Regions from separate parts of the Homo sapiens genome. Here region 1 is linked to region 2. The links are contacts of gene promoters, found by promoter capture Hi-C in blood cells and fetal thymus (Javierre and others, 2016). All regions are on one chromosome and are shown on one strand. Each heading gives the region's core, a stretch centred on a gene start or on the middle of the fragment in contact. The rest is flanking DNA. Distances are from core to core; before and after follow the strand shown. Region 1 holds the start of GINS1 (GINS complex subunit 1). Region 2 holds the start of LINC01431 (long intergenic non-protein coding RNA 1431).

Evidence for each region. The method cuts DNA at HindIII sites, captures the fragments that hold promoters and counts their contacts. A CHiCAGO score of 5 or more calls a contact.
Region 1: the fragment with the promoter of GINS1 here is called in contact with the fragment with the promoter of LINC01431 in region 2 in 1 of 17 cell types (non-activated CD4 T cells); the score reaches 5.6 in non-activated CD4 T cells.

What each region holds. Positions count from the first base shown.
Region 1 is chr20:25,406,172-25,412,423 of GRCh38, forward strand. GINS1 (GINS complex subunit 1) reads left to right here and starts at 1,502. Exons shown (of 7, transcript NM_021067.5): 1 at 1,502-1,724. The coding sequence starts at 1,650. LOC105372581 (a long non-coding RNA gene) reads right to left here and starts at 2,124. Exons shown (of 3, transcript XR_937403.3): 1 at 1,900-2,124. RefSeq lists enhancers at 1,544-1,793, 1,891-2,648. The HindIII fragment of the contact is 9,972 bases long and covers 1-2,114 here.
Region 2 is chr20:23,354,447-23,360,772 of GRCh38, forward strand. LINC01431 (long intergenic non-protein coding RNA 1431) reads right to left here and starts at 3,681. Exons shown (of 3, transcript NR_109884.1): 1 at 3,509-3,681; 2 at 2,605-2,691; 3 at 2,148-2,523. NXT1 (nuclear transport factor 2 like export factor 1) reads left to right here. Exons shown (of 2, transcript NM_013248.3): 2 at 1-325. The coding sequence ends at 18. RefSeq lists enhancers at 3,107-3,196, 3,387-3,776 and a silencer at 3,827-4,016. The HindIII fragment of the contact is 4,137 bases long and covers 2,665-6,326 here.

The DNA.
Region 1 (6,252 bases), core at 252-2,751, 2.0 Mb after region 2:
CAAAAAGGCAATGTTTGCTGGGTGCGGTGGCTCACGCTGTAATTCCAGCACTTTGGGAGGCCCAGGCGGACGGATCCCTTGAGCTCAAGAGTTGTCGACCAGACTGGCCAACATGGTGAAACCCTGTCTCTACTTAAAATACAAAATAGCCAGGTGTGGTGGCCTGAGCCTGTAGTCCCAGCTACTCAGAGGGCTGAGGGGGGAAAATTACCTCAGCCCGGGAAGTGGAGGCTGCAGTGAGCTGAGATGGCGCCACTGCACTCCACCTGGGTAACGGGAGTTAAGACCCTGTCTCCAAAAAAAAAAGGCAATGTCATTATTCAACATAAGCCTGAGTAGGCCATTCCCATGCCCATTCCTTAGATGACATATCTACTGTATATTTGCAAAAGATCAACATAGTTTCTAGGGTTAGCTAGAATTAATCCAAGATTGCGCCGGTTGCGGTGGCTCATGCCTGTAATCCCAGCACTTTGGGAGGCCGAGGTGGGCGGATCACGAGGTCAGGAAATTGAGACCGTCCTGGCTAACACGGTGAAACCCCGTCTATACTTAAAAAATTCAAAAAATTAGCTGGGCGTGGTGGCGGGCGCCTGTAGTCCCAGCTACTCGGGAGGCTGAGGCAGGAGAATGGCGTGAACCCGGGAGGCGGAGCTTACAGTGAGCCGAGTTCGCGCCACTGCACTCCAGCCTGGGCGACAGAGCGAGACTCCATCTCAAAAAAAAAAAAATCCAAGATTGCTTGTTAGAAATTAACATTGCTTTTTGAAAAATTGCCTAATAAAACAATTCTTTAGCAGTGATTCCCATCTTCCATATGCTTAAGAAATATTCCATAACCATCTAGCCAAGAAAATTCCTAGTGAATTCGTATTAATCTAGGGCAGATATTACAAATATTTTTAAAAGACTATTTTAAAATCAAAGGGTGGTACTGTGGTGTTGGAAATGGAAAGCCTAAATAACAGTCTAATCACTCTGGAGCTGTGTGACCTTGGGCAAGTTACCTAACTTCTGTTTCCTTATTAATCCCGGGTCTTAAAACACTTCAGAGATAATTGTGGGAATGAAATACACACTGCAGTCCCTACCAGCACTAGGTACCCAATAAAAGAGAGTTTCATTTTAATATCAAACAGAAAACCCGCACTGCAAAACTGAAACCCTTGCGTCCTACCAATGCACACCAAGTTTTTGGGCCTTTCCTCTTAACCTCAAAGTGCTCTTTTCTTGAACCTAAACGAGAATGAATGAATCAAAAGGAAAATGACAAGGAAGCTGCGGGGCGTGCATTTATTTCCAGCTCTGCTGCCCGTAGAGTCCCCCGGCCCACTGCCTGAGAACTGGAAAAGCCGTCTCTGCTCAGCCGAGGGGTTCTGCCATCTCCGGGGCGGGGACCTCACCTTGGAAAGACCCCTCCCACTCCGCCCCTCTTGGAATGCGGCTGAGCGGTGGATGTCCCTTTTCGGGCGCCGTAGGCGCGTTCCTATTGGCTAGCTTTGTTCGGCGCCAAAGCGCGGAGCGGAGGCCGAGGCGAGAGCCTGGCGCTGTAGGACTAGAACGAAAGGAGTGAGGCGCCGAGAGCCCAGATACCATTTTGGCGTGAGAGCTGGTGGTTGGCAAGGCCGCGGGAGTGGGAAGCGTCCGCCATGTTCTGCGAAAAAGCCATGGAACTGATCCGCGAGCTGCATCGCGCGCCCGAAGGGCAACTGCCTGCCTTCAACGTGAGGGGCGGGTAGACTTGGACGGGGCATGCCGGCGTTGGGCCCTGGGCTCTGGGGCGGGGCGGCTCCCCGTCAGGGTTCACTTTCGCACCTTGTTCCCTCCGAGCTCCGGAAAACTTGGGAAGCAGCAAAACAAAATTCAGGAGGAAAGAGAAAGCATTCATGCTTACGCTACCCAGCGATTTGGTGAATTTCCTCATCTGAGCAAATTTTGCATTTTAGCAGTTTTCCTTGGACAGATTTGTTCCGGTCCCTTAAAATATTTACAGGTTGCCTGATAATTTAGCATTTCTTGCTCACTCAGGCATCTAATCGTGGTCAGTAAAAGCTAGGCCTCTGGAACCTGGCTGAGATTCTGGTTCTGTAGTGTGACTTTGGGGCAGTTACTCAAGCTTTCTGTGCTCTCAGTTTTCTCATACGCAAAAATGGGGATGGTGACAATAATAGTACCCAACGCATGATGTAGTGGACGCAAAATGAGTGGCATGTGTAAGGGTCTCTGCATATGCCTCACATACAGTAAGGGCTGAGTCAGTGTTAGCTATTAATATTACTTTTCTCCTGCTGCTGCTGTTACTATTAATATTATGATTATTTGTATTTTTCTATCACTGCTACCCCAGGGAGAGTGCTAAGCACTTCATGTACATTATCTTTTGTCTTTCTAATAACCCTTTGAGGGCCCGGTACCATGGCTCCTGCCTGTAATCCCAGCACTTTGGGAGGCTGAGGCGGGAGGATCGCTTGATCCTGCCACTGCATTCCAGCCTGAGTGACAGGGAGACCCTGTCCCAAACAAAACAAAAATAACTTTTTGATGTTTAAACTATTGTTTTCTACTTTTTTCAGCTATATATGCATAGGATTGGGGAGATTTAAGTATATTGCCTAAGGTGACACAGCAAGAAAGCTAGGATTTGAACCCTGGCACTCTGGCTCCAGAGCCTGCACTCTAAATTGTATATTTCACTTACGTCATAGAGCAGGCATTATGTGGATGTCAGGACACATTCTGCTGGAAGATGGGCACAAAAACAGATAATAGAATTCACCACGCTAAGTGATACTAAGGAGGTATAGCAAGGAGCACGAAGGAGAAACACCAGTATGAGCTGGGGTAGAAGAGGTGATATATGAGCCTTTCCATCCTCAAGGATGAGGTTACTGATCTGAGAAGGAAGCGAGGCATCCCAGCCAAAGGATGCTGCAGCACAAAGTCACGTGGTCACACTGGAGAGGGTGACCAATAGGGCCTGTGGGGAGTCTAGGAAGGTGGCTCACAGCCTACATGAATTTGTTGTTCACTTATAAGGCATGCTGGGAGCTGGTAGAGGATTTTAGACAAGGAAGTGATAGGGTAATTTTTGTGTTTTGAAGGTAACTGCGGCAGCAATATGGGGAATGGATTGAAGAGAGGAAAGAATGGGACAGGGAGATGGCTACTGGGTGGCTGATAGAGCAGGTGAGAGGTGTGTGGTCTGAACTGTGTCAGGTCAGTGGCACTGAGATCAGTGTTTGGGTTTTAGAGACATGAAGCAAACATGACTTGTAGCTATTAGAGCAGGGGCAGAGATGGGGTCCATAATGAATAAGAGGGAGGAATTGGGATCTTGGAGGATCCTTAGGAAACTGGGTAAACAACATCAGAGTTCAGGAGATAGAGTGTGTTGGGAAAGGTAATGAGTTTTGTTTTGAACACTAAAGAGCACCTAGCCAGACAATTAGATTGTCTTACAAATGAAGAAACTGAGCTGACACAAATTATGGGTCAAGTTAAGGAACTCGTCTGAATTTACAGCATATTGGAGGTAGAGCTTCAACTTGAACACAGGTTTTCCAGTTTCTAGTCAATTGTTTTTTCAACTTCAGAGCAGTTACCTCATTTAAAAAGTTAGGCAGCAGTCTGCAGCTCAGTAGAGATGCTTGAATGCAGAAGTGTGTAAATGCTAAAATGTGGCCTGAGAACTAGGAACTTTAGAGGTCATTGTACATATCAGGACACAGGCCTAGAGAACAGAGAGACTGTGCAAACAGGTGCGGCCAAGCTGGATTTTGGACCTGACTCTGACACTTAGTTTAGCTCTCTGTTTTACTCAAATTTTAAGTTAAGTGTTGGGTTATCACTTTGTGGGGCTAGGGGCTGGTCTTAGAAGTTGTAGAATCAGGCCAGGAGTGGTGGCTCACGCCTGTAATCCCCCCACTTTGGGAGGCTGAGGCGGGCGGATTACAGGGTCCTGAGATTGAGACCATCCTGGCTAACATGGTGAAACCCCGTATCTACTAAAAATACAAAAAATTAGCCAGGCGTGGTGGGATGTGCCTGTAGTCCCAGCTACTCGGAAGGCTGAGGCAGGAGAATGGCTTGAATCTGGGAGGCGGAGGTTGCAGTGAGCCAAGATCGGGTCACTGCACTACAGCCTGGGCGACAGAGAGAGACTCCGCCTCAAAAAAAAAAAAAAGTTGTAGAATCACTGTCTTGTAGGTCTTAATTTGGTGGAGCACCTTTTGTCTCACTAGTGCCTTCCACTGACAAACCCACCTGATACTCAAGGTGATCCAGCAGCCTGGAACACTTAGTCAGCCTGCAGAGGCTGGCCTCCGACTCAGCGGCACAGAGGAAGGCTGACAGTGGATCTGAGAGGCCCAAGGACCACACAGGCTTTTCTCTTTTTTTTATTGTTTTGAGATGGGAGTTTCGCTCCTGTGGCCCAGGCTGGAGTGCAATGGTGTGATCTCGGCTCACTGCAACCTCCGCCTTCTGGGTTAAGCAATTCTCCTGCCTCAGCTTCCCTAGTAGCTGGGATTACAGGCGCCTGCCACCATGCCCAGATAATTTTATGTATTTTTAGTAGAGATGGGGTTTCACTATTTTGGCCGGGCTGGTCTCGAACTCCTGACCTCAGGCGATCCACCCACCTCAGCCTCCCAAAGTGCTGGGATTATAGGCGTGAGCCACCGTGCCCGGCCCAACACACAGGCTTTTCTTCTGGAATCACTCATGGTTAAGCGCTGTGTTCAGCAAACAGAAAAGTGATTACACCCTTTCTATATGCAGAATTGATACTTTTTTTAAAAAGTACATTTTTAAGAAAGTTAGGCCAAGCATGGTGGCTCATGCCTGTAATCCCAGCCACCACTTTGGGAGGTCAAGGTGGAAGGAACACTTGAGCCCAGGAGTTCGAGACTAGCCTGGGCAACATAGTGAGACCCCATTTTTACAAAAAATAGAATTAGCTGGGTGTGGTGGCACACACCTGTAGTCCCAGCAACTTAGGAGGCTGAAGTGAGAGGATTGCATGGCTCCAGGAAGTTGAAACTGCAGTGAACTGTGGTCACGCTATTACACTCCAGCCTGGGTGACAGACTGAATCCCTGTCTCAAAAAGGAAAAGGTAAGAAAATTACCTTGGGCTCAGGTAGAAGTCATGCTTGCATTTTCCATCAGGAATTACATCTTTTGAGCAGAGTTGAGTAGTTGATTTTGGAATTGTGCCATTTGTATATGCCACAGCATTTTTGCCAACACATATATTTTGGCCCTAAAAATAGACAGTGAAAAAGAGATGGGATTGCTTCTCTTTCGATTGTTGGCAGACCTATTGGGTAACATTTAATCATTTTGGGCTGGACACGGTGGCTCCTGCCTGTACTCGCAGCACTTTGGGAGACCATGGCAGGCGGATCACTTGAGGTCAGGAGTTTGAGAGCAGTGTGGCCAACATGGCGAAACCCTGTCTCTACCAAAAAAAAAAAGATTACAAAAATTAGCCAGACTTGGTGGCTTACACCTGTAATCCTAGCACTTTGGGAGGCTGAGGTGGGTGGATTGCCTGAGGTCAGGAGTTCGAGACCAACCTGGTGAACATGGTGAAACCCTGTCTCTACTAAAAATACAAAAATTAGCTGGACGTGATGGGCACCTGTAATCCCAGCTACTTGAGAGGCTAAGGCAGGAGAATCATTGCTTGGACCCGGGAGACGGAGGTTGCAGTGAGCCAAGATTGCACCATTGTACTCCAGCCTGGGTGACAAGAACAAAACTCCGTCTCAAAAAAAAAAAAAATTAGCTGGGCATTGCTGGTGCACACCTGTAGTCCCAGCTACTCGAGAGGCTGAGGCAAGAGAATCACTTAAACCTGGGAGGCAGAGGTTGCAGTGAGCTGAGATCGCACTACTGCACTCCAACCTGGGCCACAGAGTGAGACTTCATCTCAACAACAACGAAAAAAATCAGAATTCTAATGTTTTATTTTTCCAAGGGAAAATTTGCCCGAAACTGGATACTAGAAAAACTCCTATGGCCGGTTTTTGCAGTGCAAACCAAAAACACTATTCCTTTTTCTTTCTTTTGGTATTAACCTTTTAAGATCACTTTTAAGCTGGGCCCAGTGGCTCATCCCTGTAATCCCAGCACTTTGGGAGGCTGAGGCGGGTGGATCACCCGAGGTCAGGAGTTCAAGACCAGCCTGGCCAATATAGTGAAACCCCGTCTCTACTAAAAATACAAAAAATTAGCCAGGCGTGGTGGT
Region 2 (6,326 bases), core at 2,431-4,930:
CAGGACTGGGCCAGCTAGTGGGGGTGGCAGAGGTCTCTTTGCTTCATTCAGCCCTAGCTCTGTAGAGAAATGCAAACCTCGACTCTCAAGGATGTGAGGAACACAAGTTCATTTCTGTTGTTGCGGAGACACTGCAGACTCCACTGTGCCGAGGTTGAACTCTTTTTTGTTGCTCAAGTTCTAGGAGTCCCTTTCCTGAATATATACTTGTTTGTCATAGTTTCCTTTTCAAAGTAGTAAACTTTTCTATTTTTCTACTTGCCCAGTAGAGACTCTGATTCTGGAAATTCTGACAAATAATTTAATAATACACATGTTGCTTCTTTCCCTGTCTGATGTGTTTGACCAGGTTGTGAGGGAGGAGGAGGGCTAAAGGCAGAAAGCATAATAGGAAGCACCCGCACAGGGGTGAGGATCAGGGCTTAGTACCTACCCCAGGCACCAGTGTGCACATAGTTGGCCCACCTGGAGCTGTGATTCACAGCCCCATGCACACTAGAATCCCTTGGGACACTGAAAATTACCTATGCCAAGGCCATACTCCAGACCCAACCATGCTTGAGTGTGTGTGTGTGTGTGTGTGTGTGTGTGTGTGTGTGTGTGTGTGTGTGGTGGTGGGTAGGGGGGTTGGTTTTGTTCCAGGCTGGAGTGCAGTGGCATAATCTTGGCTCACTGCAACCTCCATCTCCCGGGTTCTAACAATTCTCGTGCCTAAGCCTCCTGAGTAGCTGGGATTGCAGGCACATGCCACCACACCCGGCTAATTGTTTGCCTGAATCTTTGAGGATACGGCTGGGCATGGGCAGTTTCTAAAAGCACCCTAGGTGTCTTTTAGGATACATCACCTTAGGATATAGCAGAATCACCTAACAGATGGCTGGGCCCTACCTTAGCACCTTAGCTGAGAATTAAATGATGAGAACAGATGAAATACTAGAGTTAGCTAATTGCTTATAAATGAAGCCACTATATTAAACTCATTGATAAAGAGAAAGTGAATCAGCACTGATTCTGAGAGGAAGAAGCACTGAAACTAGGATGGAGGACATCAGAACCAGAAGCTGCTGTTACTGATCCTAAAGGCCAAACCCAATTGCATTTCTTCAATGTAAAGAATAGAAAACCCTATAGAAGTTGGACCAATAGATGATGTGCCTGCCATGCTGCAGCTTCCCCAGTTAAGTTGTCTTTGGTAAAAGTGTGCTAGGTTTGGGATAGGGTAGTCAAGATACTGCAATGGGAAATTTTGAGAAGGGTAAGAATCCTGATAAGCACAGTGACACAGGTAGCCGTTTCCTCTTGACACCCCTTCCCTTCTCTATTATCTGAAGCCCAGTGTTTTGAGAGATAAGGGACCCACCTTAAATACTTGACTTTCTCATTCAATTTGTAGCTAGGTCTGACATGTGATTAAGTTCTGGCCAATGAAGTAGGACTGAACTTGGGGGAATTTTCCTTCAACAGACCCTTCTTTCTTTCCCACTCTATCCTGCTGCCTGGAAAGGTTATGCTGACCTGACCACGGGCTCTGGCTCAGTCTTGGCCAAGAGAACAGCTCAGCCATACCCTAGACGTAGGATAGTGCTGAGCTAAAAGGAGCCTAGGTCCCATGTGGAAACACCAAAATAGCCCCAGCTCACTCAACCAAAGACTTCTTTTTAAATGAGAAATCCCATCTTAAGCCATTATCAATTTGGGGTGTGTGACACTGACACACAGCAGTAATCCTAAGTGAGGAAAAGGATTTGAATGGGGCAGACTGTATTCACTACAGGGCCCAGAAGACGCGGGGACGGCCCCAACTACTGCCCTTCAGGTCCGGGCCAGACCCGCAATGGGCAGGATGGGTAGGGTACAGGGCGTGCGTCCCCACCTACACTAGCCTGGTTGCAGGCGGCCTCCAAGGGCACAGCGGGAAGCTCCGCCCTTGCCATGCCCCCGCCACCGGGGAAGGCAAGACAAATGTGCGTGGCACCCTCCTCCTTCGGTTCTGGGACACATCTCCACCAAGCGGCCGTTCGGCAGGTAGGGCCAGATGGTCCCGGCTCGTCCCTGCGGGTGGGGTTTCCCACCGGCGGAAAGCGCAAGCCCCTCCCGTTCTGTCCAGCGCGCTGCCCGCTGCCTTAATTATAAGGCAGATGAAGGTGAAAAGTTTACTGGTTTTTATTTTTGCAACTTTTTGTAAATTTTAAATTATTCTAAAAAGTTTAAGAAATGAATTGTGCTGAGGAGTATAATCAGCACGCAGTGCGAGTTCTTATAGTGGCCACGTCCACAAACCCTGTGTTGTGGAAGAACAGAAGGCGTTCTGCTTTCTGTGTTTCACCGTCTCTCCCTCGCTTTAACTTCCAGGTCCCGGAGTAGTGGTGACAGCAAGGTCTGTTGGTTTCTTTGGTTTAGGTTTGATGAAAGGCCACTCCAGTGGGGTAGGAGGTGGGCAGGGAGAACAGGGGCTAGGGTGGGAGGGGCAGGAGTTGGGTCCTGGGGGTGGAGGAGATGACGGGGAGAGTGGCTTGGAGAAATCTGCAAGAAGAGACATTGGAAGGCCGGGGGAGGTGAAATGGACACTGGGTGAAGCTGAGGAGTCCTAGTGAACCATGTTACCTCTGATCCAGATATTCCCAGAACAACAAGAAATCAAGCTTCTGAATGTGGTCTGTTGCAAGCTTGGAAGGTGCACACCTGTTGCTGCTAATTTGGACAATTTGGGGGAAGAGCAGAGATTTAGATGTTGCTTTGGTCGACCTTAAACACCAGCCCTGTCTCCCCTACCACTTTGCCAAATTAGGGCCCCGTCTCTCTAAAGAGCAAACAGAAAACTGCAGAAAGTTGCTTTGTCCTGTAGACAAGAGGCTGGGACTAGGTAAGAGGAGGGAGCCAGGATGCAAAACTTAAGACCAGCCTGGCCAACAAGGCGAAACCCCGTTTCTACTAAAAATAGAAAAATTAGCTGGGCGTGGTGGCAGGCGCCTGTAATCCCAGCTACTCAGGAAGCTGAGGCAGGACAATCGCTTGAACCCAGGAGGCGGAGGTTGTAGTCAGCCAAGATCGCGCCACTGCATTCCAGTCTGGGCGACAGAGCGAGACTCCGTAACAAAAAACAAACAAACAAACAAAAAATCTTAAACATCACCAACGAGCCTTGTGAGAAATGGTTTAACGTTGTGATACCTTGCCCAATTTTAAGGCAGGTAAAGGTGTGTGTTAAAACTCAACTCTTGAACTGAACCCCAGCTGCCCTTTAGGGCATGCTTAATTTGATGTGGACTGTAACCTCTTTTGCAGCATTGTAGAGATTTGGAATCTGCACATTAGGAAGAGACCCCACGAGGCGGTGGCGTTCTTTCTCGTTCGGAGCTCACACCCCTCCTGGGGAGCCCTCTCCCAACCCGGGCTCCCGGTAAGCGCGGTCGCCGCTCCTCTGAGGGCTGCTCTTCCCTCGCTTCTGAGCCGAGGCCCCCGCGACACGAACGCCACGCCCGAAGCGCTCTTGCCAGGACGTACTGACCGAGGGTAGGCTGCCCAGCCGGGTGGTAACGTTGAGGAAAGGACAGCAGCTTCGCAAAGGAGCTGGGTAAAACCACGCCCAGACCCCGCTGGCCACCAGCCCGAGACCAAGACGCAGGCGGTGGCGCCGGTTTCTCACTCAACCGCAGGTTCCAGCATCCCCGATACGGCCGACGTCATTACCCTGCGACCGCTCAGGACACTTCTGAGGACTCTTTTGACAGCTAGTAATCGCGCGGTGGCGCGACCACGTGACTCCGGCGCCCTAGCCCCGCCCTCCGTCTCCAAGGAGCCCTGGAAGGAGCTATACCAGCGGCTCCAGAAGGCGGGGAGAGGCGGGGCCGGACTCCGGGACAGCCAATGGGCGAGGAGTGCCGCCCAGCCTGACCCACCGGCCGCTCCCTCACGAGCCTGTGGGCGTGCGCCGGCTGTGCAGGTGAGGGGCAGCGAGGGCGCCTAGTGGGCAGGGCGCCGGCGTTGCGCGTGCGTCAGTGTTCTTCCTTGTGCAGTTTAGAATTTGATACATTTCTTTCCAGTCTATTTCTATAGATTTGTTTTCAAATCACATCAGACCCTATGTAAAATAGTGTACCGTCTTTACTCATTATAACATGGTGAGCATTTCCCCAAGCTATTACACATATTTTTAAACATTGTTTTAATGACCGGCATAATAATCCAGTGCTTGGATATATCAAATTCTTCGGCCATCTCCTTATAGGTGAGATTGTTTCCAAAGTTTCACTAATGTAAGTGCACTGCAGTGAACGCCCTTACGTAACAATTGTTCACTCCCGTGTACTTTTCTCGTGCAGAGTTCTACAGCATGAAACACTATATTTAACTTTGTCAGGTTGATGTTTATCAGTGGTTTATTATTGTTTTTATAGTATTCCATTGTCAGTGAAGTATGCCATTCACACTGTCAAGTGAATTGTCTATTTGTATTATTTAAAAAAAAGATCACAAACATAGAAAGGAGAGCTTTATTTCTTTAAACGGTGATAACCTGCAAGGTGGCCCTTCTGACAGGCTGGGAAGCATAGCTTCTGGCAGAAGCTCAAAAGGCAGGCAGCTGGAGGGAAGGGGGCCTAAGACAGGAATTTAAGCTGAAGGACTTAGCCAAGTACACATATGAACAGGCCACAGGAAGAGCTATGAATATTCATGAAACGGGTCCTGACCCATGCTTACTGGACAAACGTGCATGTTACAGGTGACCTATGTTTACTTTGGGGTGGACTCTTAGCATTTACAGGTATTCATGTATTACATTTAGACCCTATAAGTTGAAAGATCTTTTCAGGACACCGATGCACTTGTGTGCAGCCTCTGTAAACCGCCAGAATCAGCCCCTGTTCGGTTGTTTCCCATCAGGAAAAAGTTACTGCAGTCAGTCTCTGGTCCAATCAAAGCAGTAATTATTTGTGGAAGTGGTGGGGCTGGGGCAGGGGGCGTGTCAGTCAGCATGTGGAGGTGGATGAAAAGCACATTGTTTGAATATTGCTTATCTAGAGGCCAGTGCTTGTTTGGCTGCCAGAGAATAAAAACCTTGTGGCAGTTAAGGCATAGTTTCTTCTTGAAGTGTAGAGGTGCATGACAACCCTTGCCAGGCATGGCCCTTCATTCTTTATCATTTAGTATTGCCACAAAGAGTCTGTGAGTCTTATGACCTCTATTTTTAAAGCTATTAAGACACTCAACTAAAGCAATCCTTTCAGTATTGAATGGATAAGCTAGCATTATGTTATGCTAGCTAACATAATCGGAGACGGAGTCTCATTCTATTGCCCAGGCTGGAGTGCAATGGCATGATCGAAGCTCACTGCAACCTCCATCTCCTGGGTTCAAGTGATTCTCCTGCCTCAGCCTCCTGAGCATCTGGGATTACAAGTGCCTGTCACCACTCCCGGCTAATTTGGTTTTGTTTTTTTGAGACAGAGTTTTCCTCTGTTGCCCAGGCTGGAATGCAGTGGTGCAATCTCCGCTCACTGCAACCTCTGCCTCCCATGTTCAAGCGATTCTCCTGCCTCAGTCTCCTGAATAGCTGGGATTAAAGGCATGTACCACCTCGCCCAGCTAATTTTTGTATTATTAGCAGGGAAAGGGTTTCACCATGTTGTCCAGGCTGGTCTTGAACTCCTGACCTCAGGTGATCCGCCCACTTCAGCCTCCCAAAGTGCTAGAATTACAGGTGTGAGCCACCGCACCTGGCCTAATTTTTGTATTTTAGCAGAGACGGGGTTTCACCATGTTGGCCAGGCTGGTCTTCAACTCCTGACCTCAAGTGATCGGCCCGCCTCGGCCTCCCAAAGTGCTGGGATTACAGGCGTGAGCCACCGTGCCTGACCACCTTTTTGTAATGCAAAACAAAATCATAAAACACGATTCTGGGCCTGCTGGAGCCATGGGTGAAAACTGCGTTCATTCCAATTTCTTCAAATCATGGAATGCAAATATAGAGAGTCGGCCTAAGAAAGATTTCTGTCACTCATTCATTCTTCAAATATTTATTGAGCACCTACTATGTGTGGGAAGCTGGCTCCTGTTCAGGAAATATAATTAAAAGTACAATCTCCCAACCCTCTTCAGAAAGGTAGTGGAGAAAGAAAACACTTTGTAATTGAATAAGCATTAAACTAGAATGTGATACCCATCACAGGCAATCCATTAAGAGACTGCAAAGACAGAACGAAATCTCACTCTTTTGTGCAGCCAAGCAATCTATTACACACATTTTCAAGATAAACAATAACTAGCTCTCAAGGGAACTTGGCAGCATTTTTCATCACACACAGTTCATCTAACCTGATATTTGG